Linked DNA regions of Homo sapiens: region 1 is linked to region 2. The links are contacts of gene promoters, found by promoter capture Hi-C in human tissues and cell types (Jung and others, 2019). All regions are on one chromosome and are shown on one strand. Each heading gives the region's core, a stretch centred on a gene start or on the middle of the fragment in contact. The rest is flanking DNA. Distances are from core to core; before and after follow the strand shown. Region 1 has its middle 43 kb from the start of KCTD7. Region 2 holds the start of SBDS (SBDS ribosome maturation factor).

Region 1 (2,917 bases), core at 265-2,764, 410 kb after region 2:
GCCCACCTTGGCCTCCCAAAGTGCTGGGAGTACAGGTGTGAGCCACTGTACCAGGCCTTTGCCATCAGCTTTTAAAGGAAGTGGTCACTTAGAACTGTATCCTAGGTGGGCAGGTTTTTTCTTTCAGCTTTTTTTTTTTTTTTAAAGCCATCATACTTTAGATTGTTTCAGCACTGTCAAATTATCTTCTGGCTTTTATTATTTCTGTTTAGAATTTAAGCCAGGCATGGTGGCTCACACCTGTAATCCCAGCACTTTGGAAAGCCACAGCAGGCGGATCACATGAGCCCAGGAGTTGGAGACCAGCCTGGCCAACAGGGTGAGGCCCTGTAGCAGCATGTGGTAGCCCTTTTTCAGTACATTGGTCAGTCCAGCTCAGTTGGATGTCATTTACATATGTGTCTTATATTTTAGATACAAGAGATTTCTTAAAAGCTTAGAGCATAACACAGATATTTATTTGATTGCGCCATCTAACAAATCTGAATAAATACATTTCAGGTCTAGGCATTGCGTTTTGTATTTCTCTAAACTAGTGTGGGCGTGTGTGTATGTGTGTATCACTTTACCCAGCCACAGCAAGTGAGTATGGATGAAATGGCTGCAGCAAAGCTAAAACTATGATATGCCTTTCAGAAAAAAATTCTGAGCTGAGTGCATTGGCTCATTCCTGTAATTCCAGCACTTTGTGTGGCCAAGATGGGAGGATTGCTTGAGGCCAGGAGTTTGAGACCAGCCTGGGCAATATAGCTAGATCCTGTCTCTGTTGGCCAGGCGCGGTGGCTCACACCTGTAATCCCAGCACTTTGGGAGGCCAAGGCAGGTGGATCACAAGGTCAGGAGATCAAGACCATCCTGGTTAACATGGTGAAACCCCGTCTCTAATAAAAATACAAAAGATTAGCCAGGAATGGTGGCGGGTGCCTGTAGTCCCGGCTGCTCTGGAGGCTGAGGCAGGAGAATGGCATCAACCCAGAGGCAGAGCTTGGAGTAAGCCAAGATCGCGCCACTGTTCTCCAGCCTGGGCGACAGAGTGAGACTCAGTCTGGAAAAAAAAAAAAATTATCCAGGGTTGTTGGTGCACACGTGTAGTCCCAGCTACTTGGGAGGCTAAAGTGGGGAGGATCACTTGAGTCCGGGCAGTCATGGTTATGGTGAGCTGTGATAATGCCACTGCACTCTAGCCTGGGTTATAGAGCGAGACAATATGTCAAATAAAGAAAAGAAAAGAAACTTAAGAAAAGAAATGCCTTTAACAGAGACCATCTCATGTATTGCAGGTTGCTGTTACTTTAGGTGGAGTTAAGATAAATAATTTTTGGTTAGTGACTTAGTGAATAAATTGACCATATGTGCTACTTCCCTGGGCGAGGGCATAGAGAATGGTACAAAGTAGGCTGCAGTAGCCAGATTATCTTGTATGTAATTTTGAGCTGTTAGTCTGGAGAAGGGCATGCTCAGATTAGAGTTACAATTTTGCTTAACCAAGGAGGGTGTGATCTAGTGCAATAGAAGATTGTTGTCTAGAACTCATTCCTTGAGAATGCTCCCCTGCTTGCTCTGCTCATTCCAGCAGCAATCAACTCTACATTGTATTCTAGGGAGTTGATTATCATTTGGAATTATTTTCCAAGGCTAATGTTTGGACAAATAATGTTTTGTTATATTTAACATTAAAACTCTGACATTGACATTCACATTGATTTTGGAAGCATTATACTTAATCATATGAAAGTTGGTGAAACTTGGATTACAGATTGCAGATGCTAATAAGTCTTTTATTAGAATGATGGCGTCTTCATACCATGAAGTTGAGGACTGAAAGATATATGAGAAGAGTACCTATAAATCGAAAGAAAATAGTAATGACATAGAAAAATGAGCAAAATCAGTTAATTTCTTCAAAGAAAATATATTAATGACAATAAATATCTGCAAAGATGGCTAACCTTAGGGAAATGCACGTTAAATGGTTTTTTTTGTTTGCCTGTCAGATTGACAAATTAAAGTTCAATAATGTTATGCTTATGAGGTTATGGGAAACCAGATTCTCATACACTGTAGGTGGGAATGTAAATAGTATATTTTGTCAGACCAGTTTGGTATATGTCAAAATTTTAAATGCACATACCCTTTGGCATTCCGTTTCTGTTTCTAGCAAACTGTTCGATTTATTTTTAATTACATTTGTATCCCAAGTGCCTGTCCCAAGTGCCTGTGTCCCAAGTGGCTGTCGTACAGTAATCAATCAGTGTATAAATATTTGGTGAATGAGTGCAGAGGGAACACTATAGGAATATGTACTACATATAGTAACTGTCTCTGGATGATGATTAACACATTTTTTTTCTACTTGTCTATATATTATCAGGTTTTGTAAATAATGAGTATTCTTTACTTTTCTAACTGGAAAAAAAAATTTAAGGGAAAAAAATCACCCATAAGTTTTATTCCTTAACTGAGGTCAATGGATAGCTTATCGTTTTACTAGAATTGATTGGGTGTTTCCTGTAAGTCCCAGATGAGTTGCCTGGAGATAGGAGTGACCTGTGAGGGCATGACATTGAACCCAGGAATAGGAAGCAGGGCCCGCTCAAGGATAGAGGGAAAATACTCACATCTGCAAAGTGTTTTCGTTTTGCTTTTCTGAGATGAAACTGGTTTGCATCCAGAGCCTTAAGAAAGAACACTAATAGTTCTGTGAGCTTTGTAAGTATGCTTTGTACCTGTCTGTCCTTTTTAGAGTACATGGACCCAGAATAAATCCCAGCCCTGGGGCATAATTTGTAGAATCCTAACTGTCCCAGCAGCAGAGATCATTTTTACTCTGTCTTCCCTGACATAGGTGGGACCAATTGAATTGTGCATTCTTTATGTCCAGGTTGTTCAATCAAGCTCCTATTTATTGGAGTGCAGT
Region 2 (2,700 bases), core at 201-2,700:
AAACGTTTACCTCCCCTGCCGCCCCAGGGTCCTTGCCCGCCGAGTGCCCTTACCCATCCTCCTCAGAGCCGACAGGAGACTAGGATCTCGGACCTGGATAGCCCGATGATTCGCACTGGTACCGCGAGACGCACCGAGCTACCTCGCCGCGTTAGCGGCGTACCGAGTGCCTGCAGACCTGTGGGCAGCCATGACACTGCCAGGCCGGTCCTGATTGGTTCAGAGGACGAAGAGGTGGGCCCAGAGGAAAGCCCAGAGCTCCGGGAAAGGAAGCCAGTGCCCGGTGCGCTCTCGGCCCTGCTCCGATTGGCTCAGAGGGGAAAGGGGGCGTGCCCAGAAATAAGCACCTCCCAGAGTTCCAGGCGATGAAGGCGGAGCGCTTCCGCCTCCATTTGGATTGGCTCAGACTGGGAAAAGGCGGGCCCAGAGAGAAATGATTGGCATGGGAAAATTAAAAGAGGAAAGGAGCGGGGAGCGGGGGAAATGCTATGTGGGCCTGTTTGGATCTTAACTGAAATAAACCGACTGTAGAAAGGCATTATTTTTGGGAAACCCGAGGATGGACTCGCTATTAGATGATATTAAGGAATTGTAGTTAATCTCGTCGCGTGTATCTGTTAAGGGCTATAGGCTGAAGTATTTAATGCTGAAACCATATGATGGTTTCTTTAAAATACCCCCAACCGGCCGGGCGCTGTGACTCAAACCTGTAATCCCAGCACTTGGGAAGCCGAAGCGGGAGGATCGCTTGAGCCCAGGAGTTCGAGACCAGCCTGAGCAACATAGTGAGACCTCGTCTGTACAAAAAATTTTTTTTAATTATTTATTTAATTAAATTAGCTTGGCGTGGCCGCTCACACCTGTAGTCCCAGCTACTTGGGAAGCTAACGCTGGAAGATCGCTCGAACCCAGGAGGTCGAAGCTGCAGTGGGGCCATGACCCTGCCACTGCACTCCAGCCTGGGTGACAGAGTGAGACTGACTTAAAAAAAAAACTGTAAATAAAAAAGCAACAAAAAAATGAAAAAAGAATAAAACAAGGATGGCAAAATGTTGATAGCGGGGTGATGGGTACATAGAAGGTTCATTACACTTTTTTGTCTACATTTTATGTTAAAATATTTCTATTATAAAAGGGTGAGTAAATAAAAATATTTATTATAAAATAATTCTATTATAAAAAATATTTATATTATAAAGTGGGTCTGGCCCTTGAATTCCGCGGAACGAGGTGGTGCCAACGCTGTGTTTTAACCCGGTCACTAAACATCCGCGAGCATCCTGTCAGAGCTCTCAGCTCATTGGCGAAAGTAAATACGCCAAGGAAAAGCACCTCCCTTTTTGGGCGTGGAAAGATGGCGTAAAAAGCCACAATACGCAGGCGTCATCGCTCACTTTTCCCCTCCCGGCTTCTGCTCCACCTGACGCCTGCGCAGTAAGTAAGCCTGCCAGACACACTGTGACGGCTGCCTGAAGCTAGTGAGTCGCGGCGCCGCGCACTGGTGGTTGGGTCAGTGCCGCGCGCCGATCGGTCGTTACCGCGAGGCGCTGGTGGCCTTCAGGCTGGACGGCGCGGGTCAGCCCTGGTTCGCCGGCTTCTGGGTCTTTGAACAGCCGCGATGTCGATCTTCACCCCCACCAACCAGATCCGCCTAACCAATGTGGCCGTGGTACGGATGAAGCGTGCCGGGAAGCGCTTCGAAATCGCCTGCTACAAAAACAAGGTCGTCGGCTGGCGGAGCGGCGTGTGAGTAGCCCCCTCCCTCGGGCCTGGGCCTGGGCCTGAGCCGTCACCTCCGAGGCGGCCTGTCTCTGCCCAAGTCGAGTGAATGGGCCAGGCTGGGGTGTTGGCCGGGGAGGAAATGGAACATTCCTGCTGTGAGCATGAGACGTCGCTGTCCGAGCTTGGCGCCTAAGCCAAGGGTTTCTTCTTTATTTGGTTGGTTCGGATTGGGTTGTTGGTTTGGGGTTTTGTTTTGTTGGTGTCATAAAAGCTGCAGCCAAGAAATCTCGTAATTGTGGTCCTTTTCCTAGAATAATGATGGCTGAGAACCTAGTCTTACGAATACTGTCATAGTTGTGGGTACATCTGGTGTCATAGATCTCAGTAGCCCTAGCAGTTTAAAGTGCGTAGTGTCTTCACTGCTGCCATCTAGGGACTGGCATTCCGTGGCAGCAGCTGTCTGCACCCCACCCCACCCTTGTGTTTCTTACGTCCTCCCATGACATTTTTCTCCAGTGAGCAAATGGTAAGGCAAATACGGTTCTGAGTTTTGAAAATGTTCCCTCAGGCCGATGCGGGCAGTTCACTTGAGGCCAGGAGTTCGAGGCCAGCCTGGCCAACATGAAACCCCATCTCTACTAAAAATACAAAGTTAGCCGGGTGTGGTGGCGCATGCCTGTAATCCCAGTTACTCAGGAGGCTGAGGCGGGAGAATCACTTGAACCCGGGAGGCTGAGGTTACAGTGACCCGAGATCGCGCCATTGCACTCCAGCCTGGGCAAAAACAGTGAAATTCCATCTAGGGGCGGGGGTTGGGGGGTAAGAAAAAGAAAACTGCCCTCTACACTAAAGGTCATCAGGGGGATTTGTTGTGTCTTGCCGTTCATGTTGTTGCCATCTCGTATTTAAATGTAAATGCATGTCCAAGTTTCAAGTATATTCACATAGGACTTTCTCTCCTGCCCTCACAAGGGAAAA

What was found. The method cuts DNA at HindIII sites, captures the fragments that hold promoters and counts their contacts. A contact is called where the count stands out against the background at its distance.
Region 1: a fragment that was not itself captured here is called in contact with the fragment with the promoter of SBDS in region 2 in 1 of the 25 tissues and cell types used here (lymphoblastoid cells).

Annotation. Positions count from the first base shown.
Region 1 is chr7:66,584,866-66,587,782 of GRCh38, reverse strand. It overlaps the pseudogene RABGEF1P1. Among named protein-coding and RNA genes, the nearest start is that of KCTD7, 43 kb to the left of the region's middle. The HindIII fragment of the contact is 7,682 bases long and covers 1-2,917 here.
Region 2 is chr7:66,994,336-66,997,035 of GRCh38, reverse strand. SBDS (SBDS ribosome maturation factor) reads left to right here and starts at 1,450. Exons shown (of 5, transcript NM_016038.4): 1 at 1,450-1,746; 2 at 2,695-2,700. The coding sequence starts at 1,619. It overlaps TYW1 (tRNA-yW synthesizing protein 1 homolog), which reads right to left and starts at 203. Exons shown (of 16, transcript NM_018264.4): 1 at 54-203. The coding sequence starts at 57. RefSeq lists a silencer at 333-452 and an enhancer at 2,017-2,066. The HindIII fragment of the contact is 8,933 bases long and covers 1-2,700 here.